Regions from separate parts of the Homo sapiens genome. Here region 2 is linked to region 1. Evidence: promoter capture Hi-C in 16 types of primary human blood cells and fetal thymus (Javierre and others, 2016). All regions are on one chromosome and are shown on one strand. The core of a region is centred on a gene start or on the middle of the fragment in contact, and the rest is flanking DNA. Distances in the headings are between cores, read along the strand shown. Region 1 holds the start of STX3 (syntaxin 3). Region 2 holds the start of DTX4 (deltex E3 ubiquitin ligase 4).

The links. The method cuts DNA at HindIII sites, captures the fragments that hold promoters and counts their contacts. A CHiCAGO score of 5 or more calls a contact.
Region 2: the fragment with the promoter of DTX4 here is called in contact with the fragment with the promoter of STX3 in region 1 in 4 of 17 cell types (non-activated CD4 T cells, neutrophils, activated CD4 T cells and 1 more); the score reaches 6.3 in non-activated CD4 T cells.

Annotation. Positions count from the first base shown.
Region 1 is chr11:59,753,589-59,758,738 of GRCh38, forward strand. STX3 (syntaxin 3) reads left to right here and starts at 1,788. Exons shown (of 11, transcript NM_004177.5): 1 at 1,788-2,047. The coding sequence starts at 2,018. RefSeq lists enhancers at 218-718, 408-702, 468-762, 699-858 and a silencer at 1,729-1,988. The HindIII fragment of the contact is 11,536 bases long and covers 1-4,666 here.
Region 2 is chr11:59,170,120-59,175,354 of GRCh38, forward strand. It overlaps DTX4 (deltex E3 ubiquitin ligase 4), which reads left to right and starts at 2,013. Exons shown (of 9, transcript NM_015177.2): 1 at 2,013-2,687. The coding sequence starts at 2,477. LOC124902601 (basic proline-rich protein-like) reads right to left here and starts at 3,326. Exons shown (of 2, transcript XM_047427951.1): 1 at 3,146-3,326; 2 at 1-2,611. The coding sequence starts at 3,326. The coding sequence ends at 1,803. It overlaps LOC124902675 (a long non-coding RNA gene), which reads right to left. Exons shown (of 4, transcript XR_007062682.1): 4 at 3,580-4,378. RefSeq lists enhancers at 1,150-1,690, 1,777-2,071, 2,699-3,527, 2,970-3,079 and silencers at 1,950-2,519, 2,580-2,629, 4,777-4,846. The HindIII fragment of the contact is 13,201 bases long and covers 1-5,235 here.

The DNA of each region.
Region 1 (5,150 bases), core at 538-3,037:
GAATTTTTTACTCCAGACCCCAATGGTCCTTTTCAGATTCCTAACGTGAAGGGTTGTTCATATCTCGGCCTCTCGCGGAAGACTCTATTTTCTTGAAGCGCGGGGAACTACGTATTCCCACTAACAAAAATCTGTTAAGGGGCAGGGCGCAGTGGCGCACGCCTGTAATCCCAGCCCTTCGAGAGGCCGAGGCGGGCGGATGGCTTGAATACAGGAGTTCCAGACCAGCCTGGGCAACATGGCGAAACCCTATCTCTACGAAAAAAACACAAAAATTAGCCGGGCGTAGTGGCGCACGCCTGTAATCCCAGCTACTTGGGAGGCTGAGATGGGAGGATGGGTTGGGCCCAGGGGATCGAGGCTGCAGAGAGCGGTGATCGCGCCACTGCACTCAACTTGCGCAACAGAATGAGACTCTGTCTAAAAAACAAACAAACAAACAAACAAACAAACAAACAACCCCCAAACTCCCCAAAAATGTGTTAGGGGAAGGAGGTGGGACAGTGTGTATTTCTGATCTACTCGCCTTTCCTAGTATGACCACCAGGGGGCGCGGAAGCCCTCCTGGTACTAAGGCGGGGACAACCTGCCCAGCGAGCACAGCGGGCAGAAGGAAGTGTGCCGGACGCGAGAGAGAACTACGGCCGAGACCCGCGGGGCCGGCTCAAAGCCCGACCTCTGCCATACGCACCGTATCTTTATGGGAGCCGATGAGGTCAGCAGGGAGCACGCGTTCAGATGGCAGAAGAGGGCAAAGTACTGCTAGAATTACAAAGATATTTACAGCTTTTTAACCTGAAAGCACAGAGCAGATCCTATTCTTCAGAATTAAATCTTCGGCTCGCCAGTCCCGTTTATGGATCTCCACTCTGATGAATGTGCCATTTGTTCCCAAGAAGACAAATAGGGTAGGGAGAAGAGGGAGAGGCGGGGAGAAGACTCGAGATAAAGGGACGATCTGCTTTTCGGAAGCAGAAGCCGCCTGGGAACCACCTGCACACCAAGCAGGCTGCGAGGACGGGGAGCGCTCCAGTGCAAAGTTCTGTATTTTAAAGCCCCTCCTCGCTCACAGGCTTCACAGCGAACTACGAAGTGGGTACCATCTCTGATTTACAGACACGGGAACGGGGTCCTCTTGAGAAACGATGCTTTCCCAAACGTCTGCAAATTGTGAGTGCCAAGTGTCTCCACTGGCACTAACAACATCGAGCTGCTTACGTTTCTCGGAGCGGTCCCGATTTCCAACAAGCAAAAGATCCAAATTCTCTGACCACCCTGACCGTCCTGTATCTCCAGATCTCCAGGTCTTTCCTCTGGACACCTCCTCCATCCCCCCACTTTCACTGCCAGCAGCCCTGAGGCTGCGCGGGATCCCGCTACTCGGAATGCCTTCCTCCTGGCGGGATATTTTTAGAACACTCGACTGCCACCCAATGTAGCCCACATCACATTGTCTTATTTGTTTTCGGGAGCTTGTCCCCGCCTAGCAAGGAGTCGGCTAAGAACTGGATCCTAGCGAGGAGCCCGGCACAGACAGCGAATGACCGCAGCCAGACAGTCGCTCTTGCTCTTCCTCGGCCCTGCGGCAGGATCCGCCGGTGCAGGGGCCTCTCCCCGGACTCCACGCGTGTCTGGAGGGCTCTCGGGTTAGGGAAGGGGGCTTTGGAGACGCCCCGGGCGGCCGGGCGGTGGCGGGACGCGGGCCCTTTAAGAAGGAGCGAGGGGCGCGGCCAGGTAGGGGCGGGTCCAGGGCGGATCAGCGCTGCGCCGGCGCCGGCCCGGGAGCCGGATTTGGAGCGCGAGGCGCCGGTGGGGGCGGAGGGGGCTGCGCGGCGGAGGCTCCCGTGGCCTCGGACGCTCCTCCTAGCTAGCGGCCGCCGCCCGCCGCCGCCTGCGCCTCCAGCTCCTTCGCCCCGGCGGGCCCGGCCGCCGCTTCCGGCAGCTCACCTGGGAAGCGCTCACCTGGGACGCGCTCACCTGGGACGCGCTACCTGCCTCCGGGCGCCTGGGCTTCAGGATGAAGGACCGTCTGGAGCAGCTGAAGGCCGTGAGTTTCGCCGCAGGCGGGGTGCTGCCAGGAGGGGTGCTGCATGGGAGAGGGGCTTCCCTTTGCTCCCCAAGTCGAGGCTGGAGGGGGGCCCGAGCCGGAGGCTTGCCCTCCCCAAGCCCCCACCGCTTCCCGCGCCGGTTCCGCACCCTCCCCTCCCCTCCCCTGCGGGGTCATGTGCCCGGTGATTCATCGCTAGGCAATGATTTTCCTGAACGCCTCTAACTCTCCCACCCCGCAAGCTGGACAGTGTCTGTCCAGAGCTGGTTCCCGAAGCGGGTGCTTGGGCCCGGGAGGTCAGGGGTCCCTTCACCACCTGCCCACTGCTGCCTGGCACTATGCCCAGGACCAGCCTCCTTCTCCCTTTCCTGTTTCTCTCCTGAGGTGCTACAGGCCTGGCTGCCCCTTCCCCCAGGGAGCAGCTCAGAGCTCTCTGGTGACCTCTGGAGCTGTGAGCCGGTCACATGCTGGGATGGGTCAGCTCCTCTCCAACCGGTGGTCTGTAATTGTTATCCCCGGGTGTCATTGTCCCCCCCTCCCCCGCCGTATCTTTTGGAACAGCTGTGGTTAGGTCAAAGGATCTGAAGGTAGACTACCTCCAGCCTTGGCTGCGCAAAAGCTGTAAAGCCTTAGGTTACTTACTGTGAGTCTCTGTTTCCTTATCTATCAAATGGGAATGATCATACCCTAGGAATTTGTTGGGAGGATCAGCTGATACAATGGAACTTGATACAGAAAAGGGTTAACGCATAGGGTTTTAAGCCAGATATTCATTGACTCATTCAGTACATAATTATTGAGTGTATTCTATGGGGAGGTCCAGTGCTAAGCCTTGGAGATTCAGTGGCACAGGTTCTACCTTAATAGAATTAAAATCTAGCCCTTGACACTCAAGAGTTTAGTCCATCTACTTTGGAGCTTGTTACAAGTGTAGCAGCTTAGGCCTGAGTCTAGCCCCGCAGAATCAGAATCTAATTATTCATCCATTTCCCCAGGTGATTCATGGGCACATTACAGTTTGGGAAGCACTGGACTGGATTAGAACTGGGGTTGTCTCCTGGCTCCACTGCTTACTGGTGATCCCTTAAAATCCCAGCCTAAGTTTTGTCATTTGTAAAATGGGTAGTTGTAAGGTCGAAATGCAACAGAAGATGCTTAAGAACACTTTTAGGGTGCATGGCACGGGGGACTTAATAAATGGTGAAATATGCTAATAACTGTGAGTGCTCTTGGGAAAATGCAGATGTCAGGGACTGCTGGGATGATGTTACAAGAGTTTATCCTTTTTCTCCCTTGCTTGGATGAGACCTTCATTCCTGTTTCACCTGTTCTGTGTAGCAGGGCTGCGGAGGAGGCAGGTAGCTGGGGAAGTGAGAGAAGCAAAGGGACAGTTGCCTATTGTGGGAGTGGCCTCTCTGCCTCAGGCTTGTGCTTAGTCATCTCAGCCTCACAGCGTCCAGGTTACTGATGGGGCAGAATTTATTGCCCCTGTTTTTATAGATGGGGAAACTGCTGCTCACGGGGTAGGAGGGATGCTCCAGGACACAGAGCCGGCCAGGGCACCACCAGGAGAGGAACCCAGGCTCTTGACACTCTCCACAGTGCTCCTTCCCTTGAAGCACGCTGGTTGGGGAGGCAGAAGGAAAAGAAGAGCACGATTTTGAAGATCTCTCTGTGTCGGCACACCCAGCAACCATAAAAAAGTACAAAACTGAACAGCAGGCTCTTCCATTTATTAGGAAATCCACTTCCAGAGGAAGATACTCCATGGCCCCTTTCAGTAGCTCATTGTCAACAATGAGCAAAGAGTCTTAACTGAGCTTTGAGTTCCAAGAATAAATTTAATTTGCCTGGGGACGCTGAGCAAGTCTCTTTGCCTCTCCTCGGTGCCTCATGGTTACCCTCTGTACAATGGAATTAATGATAGGTTTCCTCCCCTTCCCTCTTGGGGATGTGGTGAAAGTGAGACTGGAGATGGTGGTGGTATTATGGGAGGATTGTTCTGAAATCACAGGGTGGCTTCTGTAGCGTCTTGGAGCAGATGCATGGCAGCGTGGGACAAAGGGACACAGGTGGCAGGTTCCAAGACTGATCACTGTGCTTCTTTGCGTCACTTCTCTGCTTCTCAATTCCTCCTTTATACAACAAAGAATTGAGTTGATCTCAGAAGCCCCCTCTGGCGTTATTATAGGTTTTTCTTTGAAGACTGTTAAGGTTTATGTGGATTTTGGTGTCAGTTCACCTCCTCTTATCCCCTCTCCCCAGCCAGACTCCCAGGGATCACCCTCACTGAAACAAGATATGCGTCTTCTCCCTCTGATTTCCGTTATCAATTAGAAGCGTTTGTTAACCTGCATGAAACAAATTGCACATTGAGCAGCCTATGCAATCTCTTTCTGTGGTGTTCTTTCTAAATCCTGGGGAGGGGAGGTGGTAACTGCCTCCCGATAACTGGAGGGCTTTCCGTGCCTGTGATTGACTTTGTTCTGGGTAGATACAAAGAGAACATGTGGGGTTGATGGGTAGAAATGAGGAATCTGTAAGAAAGCGTTTTTAGTAGACAGAGCTGCCCAAGGATGGAGTAGATGGTGCACCCTCCAGCATGGGAAGGAAGCAAGAAGCTTGTTGGGATTTTGAATGTTGTAGGAATTTGAGCATCTCTTGGAGGGGAGGTGAACTAGGAGATATAAGGCCTTCACCAACCTTAAGAATGTGTGGTTTTATAAAATGCTTAATTGTGAGCCTGTCCTGAGGCTTTGAAGTCTACAGGGACTGAGGCCTCAAGAGTTGCCCCTGTAAAGTGGCTCATCACCCTTTTCCCATAGGATCATTGTGAGGATAAAATGAGATAATCCGTGACAATCACCCACCACTGTTATTGTTAGTTCCTCTGTCTTGGCCTGCTGGCAACAGCGTCCACACAGAAGGGCATCCCTTCCTGAGGCCATGGTCACAAGATCTGACTCACCTGGTCTCATCTCATCTCTTCTCTTGCACTGCTCTTCCTGGTGGGCTCCCTCGACAGCCTGCTTTTTCAGTGACACAGGACAGGCTTGCCAAGAATGTGCAGTGCCTCTACCCAGCCTATCCCAGGACATGGTTT
Region 2 (5,235 bases), core at 763-3,262, 580 kb before region 1:
GTTTAACATGGAAGATACAAGAAGACCAGATACAAAACTAGGCTGGACATAGGCAGGTAGGCGTCAGTTTCCTTCTGCCTTCCATTCGCCTTTCAAACAGCTCATCTAACATTTGCTGGTAGCCTGCTTATCTAGTTTAGATTTTTTTCACCTTGGAATTTCTGGCTTAGCTGGTCAGGTGCTATATTTTCGCTGGTACTTCCAATATCCCCTTGAATCATTACTCTTCACTTTTTGATTCATACTTACCAAGACTATAAGAAAGTTTCCTGAGTTTTGATACTTTCCATTTTTATGACTAGAAATAAAAGTAGCCCAATAAATTTTTAAATTACTTTTTCTTCAGTTTGCCTTCTGTTTCTTTTCCAGAAAATTCTACCCCCATTTTCTCCCTTCCCTTCTTTCACACTGAGACACTTCTACATTGCCTGTTATTGTGCCACCTCTGTGTTGTATAGGACATGCTATGGAACAGGCATTTTCTTTTGAGACAGCCCAACTAAATTTTGAATACTGGTTTCCCCTCTAACTAGCTATGTAATCTAGGGCAAATAGTTTAAATTCCTTAAGTCCTGTCATTTGTAAAATGGTAATAATAATGGCCTATGATATAATTAGTCGAGGTATCCTTGTTTTCTTTTTGTTCTTCTAATTCTGAAACTCGACATTTTAATGAGTGGTATTGTTTAGGTTGGATTAGGAACAGTCCCCAAATAAGGGAGAGGCCGACTAGGCATTTTGGAGGCCAAGCTGTGCAAGAAGACCAGAAAGAACAAAGCTCAGAGGTTCCTTGAGCCTGGTGCCTTTAGGGGCCTGAAGAAGAACAGATCTCACACTTTTTCTTTTGCTTTGTATTTAGAACTCTGTTGGGAGAAAGATAAAGGTAGAAGGATGCAAAATTCTAACAATGGGAGAAATGACAGCTGCAAGGAGAGGGAGGGGGAAGCAACTCTTCTAAAACATAAAAGGGTCATATGATATTTATGAAAAAATTGATTATTTCAAAAAGATTCACAATCCCATTCTCTAACACATAATCTATTTTTACTTTCCCGCATCCTATAACTTGGATCTTGATAAGACTCGATTCGTTGTTTTATGTGGTTTGCAATCTCAACAAAACAAAATTTGTGTTCTTTGACAAGGATAATGCATAATCCTGACTTCAGTCTTCCCTTTTAGTCAGAACCTACCTATTTAAGGTTATTTTCCATATTAACTATTGATGATCAAAATAAGTCTAACTCGTGTTTTTCCTAGTGTTTCATAATTTTAGTTACAGAAACGATGCAGATAAAATTAATCTAACATGCGTCTTCCTGACTCTAGTACGTTGAATCTGGCCAGAAAAACCACATTTGCTCTCTACGTAGGTAATATAAATCCATCATTAGCGAAATTGCTGCATCCCTTTGGACTGGGTCTCATTAGCAGAGGTTGGAGTGGCCACTGGCCGGCACACGACACTTTAGGCCAGCAGGGGGCGGGTAAGCTCCAGGGCACTCGCCCGAGCAGCAGGGGGCGTGTCTTCTGCTTCCTTGACGGACAGCTAAGGATGCGGGAGAGGATGAGGTAATAGGAGCCGGGGCAAGGAAGGAGTTGGGGTGCGCGCGCGTGTGTGTGCGACTGTGAGTGTGCCAGTGCGTGCGCAAGCCCCGAGACAATGCGTGTCTCCAGTTCGCGCTGCGGACACTGATCATGCTGCATTAAGGAAAAAAAAAGAGAGAGAGAGAGAAAATTACATTTGGGGGAAGGAGGCTGCAAAGTTGCGGCTGGGCGACAGTGGTGGTCCCGGGGCCGTGTCATGGCGGGTCGCTTCTCTGCATCAAGGAACCAGGGAAACACACGCGGGCGCGGGTTTGCCTTAGCGCCCTGCTTGGGAGGGGTGGTTCATTCTGGAAGGAACTGAGCAGAGCCACAGGCAGGGGGAGCTCTCCCAGCGGCGGGGACTGCAATTCGTGCGGCGAAGGGGTGGGGAGGGAGGGAGAGAGGGGAGGGGACCAGAGCGTGCCATTCCGAGCGCGGCCGTGCGGCGAGATCCCACCCCGGCGTCTGCAGAGGCCGAGGCGCAACTGGTGCGAGGGCTGGGTCCTTGCCTCGCCGTCAGCCCCAGCTCGCGGCCGCCGGGGCTCGGGCCGCGCGCCCGCCGAGTGGCTTTTGCAAGGCGGGGGCCTGTTTGCAGAGAGCCGGGCATTTGCATGAAGCGACTCGACCCCACAGAGCAGCGGCAGCAGCAGCGGACCCCGGCGGCGGCGGCGGCGCGCGGTCCCAGCCAGGCGGCCCCGGTGTCCCGGCCCCGGTGGATGCACGGCTGGGGAGGAGCCCATGGGCCGGAGCTGAGGCTGCCCGGGGCGGCGGGGCGCGGGGCAGGGGGCGCGGTCGAGGCCCGGAGGCGGCGGCGCAGGAGGAAGCGGAGGAGGTCGGGCGCTCGGGGCCCGGGAGGCGGGCCGCGCAGCGCCGCAGCCCCGGGCTCGCCATGCTCCTGGCCTCGGCCGTGGTGGTCTGGGAATGGCTGAACGAGCACGGCCGCTGGCGTCCCTACAGCCCAGCGGTGAGCCACCACATCGAGGCGGTGGTCCGCGCCGGCCCCCGCGCGGGGGGCAGCGTGGTGCTGGGCCAGGTGGACAGCCGTCTCGCGCCCTACATCATCGACCTGCAGTCCATGAACCAGTTCCGCCAAGACACGGGTGAGCCAGCCGCCCCTGACCCCGCCCCGCCTGCTCCCACCTTCCCAACCTGCCAAGGTACCTCCCTCCCTGTGAACCCACCTTGGCCACCTAGTCGGCACTTCTGTGCAGCAGTGTCACCAAGAGGTGGTGGTGGGAGGCGATTCACTCCGCTGAATCCTCGCAGGATCCTCCCTCCCCCTTAAACATCCATGCAAATAGTATCAGTGTTGTGGTTTTGCAAACCCAGCTTCAACCTAGTCGGTAACAATCCACTCCCCACCCCTTTCATGCCCCCGCTTTTCAGCAGTTGGTGGCCCTAAGTCTTTCTATGTAGAAATTCTAGGGCCGCCCCAGACTACAGGCAATCCCAGCCCTTCGCAAAGGCTTCCTGCCCTCATCCCGTGGCGGCCGGCACCTTGGCTGACCTGACCCTGTTTTGCTTCAGGCACGCTGGGGCTTGCCACACGTCCCCTCACCCCCGATCTCACTGCCTCTGCGTCTCCTGTGTGGGATGCCTCCCCGCAGCTGGGTCCTGGGTGTGGGAACTGGGGGAGGAAGAAGGGATTCCCCGGAGGTTCTCGCTACAGTCGGGTAAGGGAAGCGCCGGGCTCCCTGGGAGGAGAGACTAGGGCTGGGGTACCCTGGACGCCGCGGCATTGGCGAATGCCTCTGCTACACACTACATGCGCGGAAGCAACAGGCCGGAGCAGATGGAGAGAGGAGGGGGAGGCTCGGGGCTTCGGAATGCATGGCAGGGAAGCCGCTCCCTTTGTCTGCGGAGGAGGAGGACGCAGATTCCTAAGGAGAAACTGTCCCCAGGCTTCCTCTTGAAACCATAGCCTGTAAGGAACCCATGGTCTCCTGGAGCGCCAAACTCCTATCTTTTCATGAGAATCAAGTTGTCACTGTAGCCAGCACAAACCCGCTTCCCAGCTGACCTGCCTTTCCAGGTCAGAGCCAGGAAGGGAGCCTCCAGGATGGGGCCTTGGGGGGTGGGGAGTGGGGGTGCTGCCCAAGGGAGAGCAAAACTGCCTCTCTTTGCTCGGTCCTTGCTTAATCGATGACCCGGGAAGAGTTTCTGCCTCCGTCAGTGACAGGTGGGGAGGGGGCCATTGTTTCTGGAATTCTGGCTCGGCTTTCCCAAGAGTGCAACCGAGGAGCCTGGAGAGGCCGGTGTGCTGGGGAGGACGTAGAGAAGATGACTCGGAAAGGCCCTCCCCAGTGAACAGCTGTTTGAGCAGAGTCTCTCTGCTTCCTTGGAAAGCCCCCACATCCTGTGTGCTAATTAGGATTGTCATGGGAAAGGGGTATCTTTCCACCCTCATGTCCCCATCTTTAGTCATAACTCCCAGCAACCCCTTTGCCAAGGACTCTGCAGACACTGGCTGATTGAGGAGAGCTTTCTGGGGAGAGGATTCTGGAAGTGTTAGAATCTGGAGGGGCTTCAACCGTGTGTGGAGCTGAGGGAGACTGGGAGGAGCAGAGAATAGAGAGGAATGTGGGGAGATTGAGAAAGAGGATTAAGTGTGGCTGAGGGGGAGGGAGAGAATGTCATTGCGCAACTTGGGTAAAGGTTGTGGAGGTGAGGGTGGAGGCATCAGAAGGTGAGGGTGGAGGGGGTGTGTGTTGGGCGGAGCTGAGCCACGGAGGTGGGACCAGAGAGAGAGAGAGAGACCAGCAGTTAAAGCATCTGACAGGGGATTCCAGTCCTGGAAAAAAAAAAAAGCAGGTGTTACCTTTTCTATTTCAGAGTAAATCTCTACAGCATTTGGAAAACCACCCTTGTGACAGAAACGTCTCAGCCCCTTTCCCACATTTGGAAAGGGCAAAGGTGGAATCTGTGTTTGGGGGTACTTAGGATAGGCAAGGTATCTACAAAGGTTCATGACCCTTTCTACAGAAGCGAAGTTGTAGAGAAAACTGGGTGGAAGGAAAGAAGCTACGTTTCCCAGGTCTGATCACTCTTACCTGAGGACTGCCTGGTGGTGAGCAATTTAGTCAGAGGCTGGCGCTCCCTGGACTTTAAACCTCAGGCAGAGAACTTGCCCTGAATCATTTTAAAGGCTGCCTCAGGGTGTGTTTATCATCAGACTGCTGTGGTTTCATCCGCTCATTGCTAGAGTCAGTCAGCCATCCTGAATACCTCTCTGCTGTGCGCCAGGCCCTGTGCTGGGTGCTGCGGACACTGGGCTGAATTCCCAGAAAAGCTGGGTCTGTCAGGGCGCTTGTCAAAGAAGAATAGAAGAATCTCTGGGTTTCTTAGCTCTGAGCCCCCTCCTCTCCCTTCTCCACCAACACACTCATAGTTCCTCTCAATCTCATTGATGAGGCCATGACAGGGTAGGAACTTTAAACCAGTGGCTCCCAGGCAACCTCAGCTAAGCCCTTGCAATGTTTAATTAAATTACCCACCATCCTTAAGCCATAATTCAAAGCTGGGAACCAGAAACATCCCCATAAACAAAAGAGATCTGGAAGTCCCCTGCCCAGAGGCGATTCCTCTCCTTTTTTGTTGCCTCCTCTGTATGGGGACATTTCCTGACATGAGAGCTTTGTCTTTTTAGAA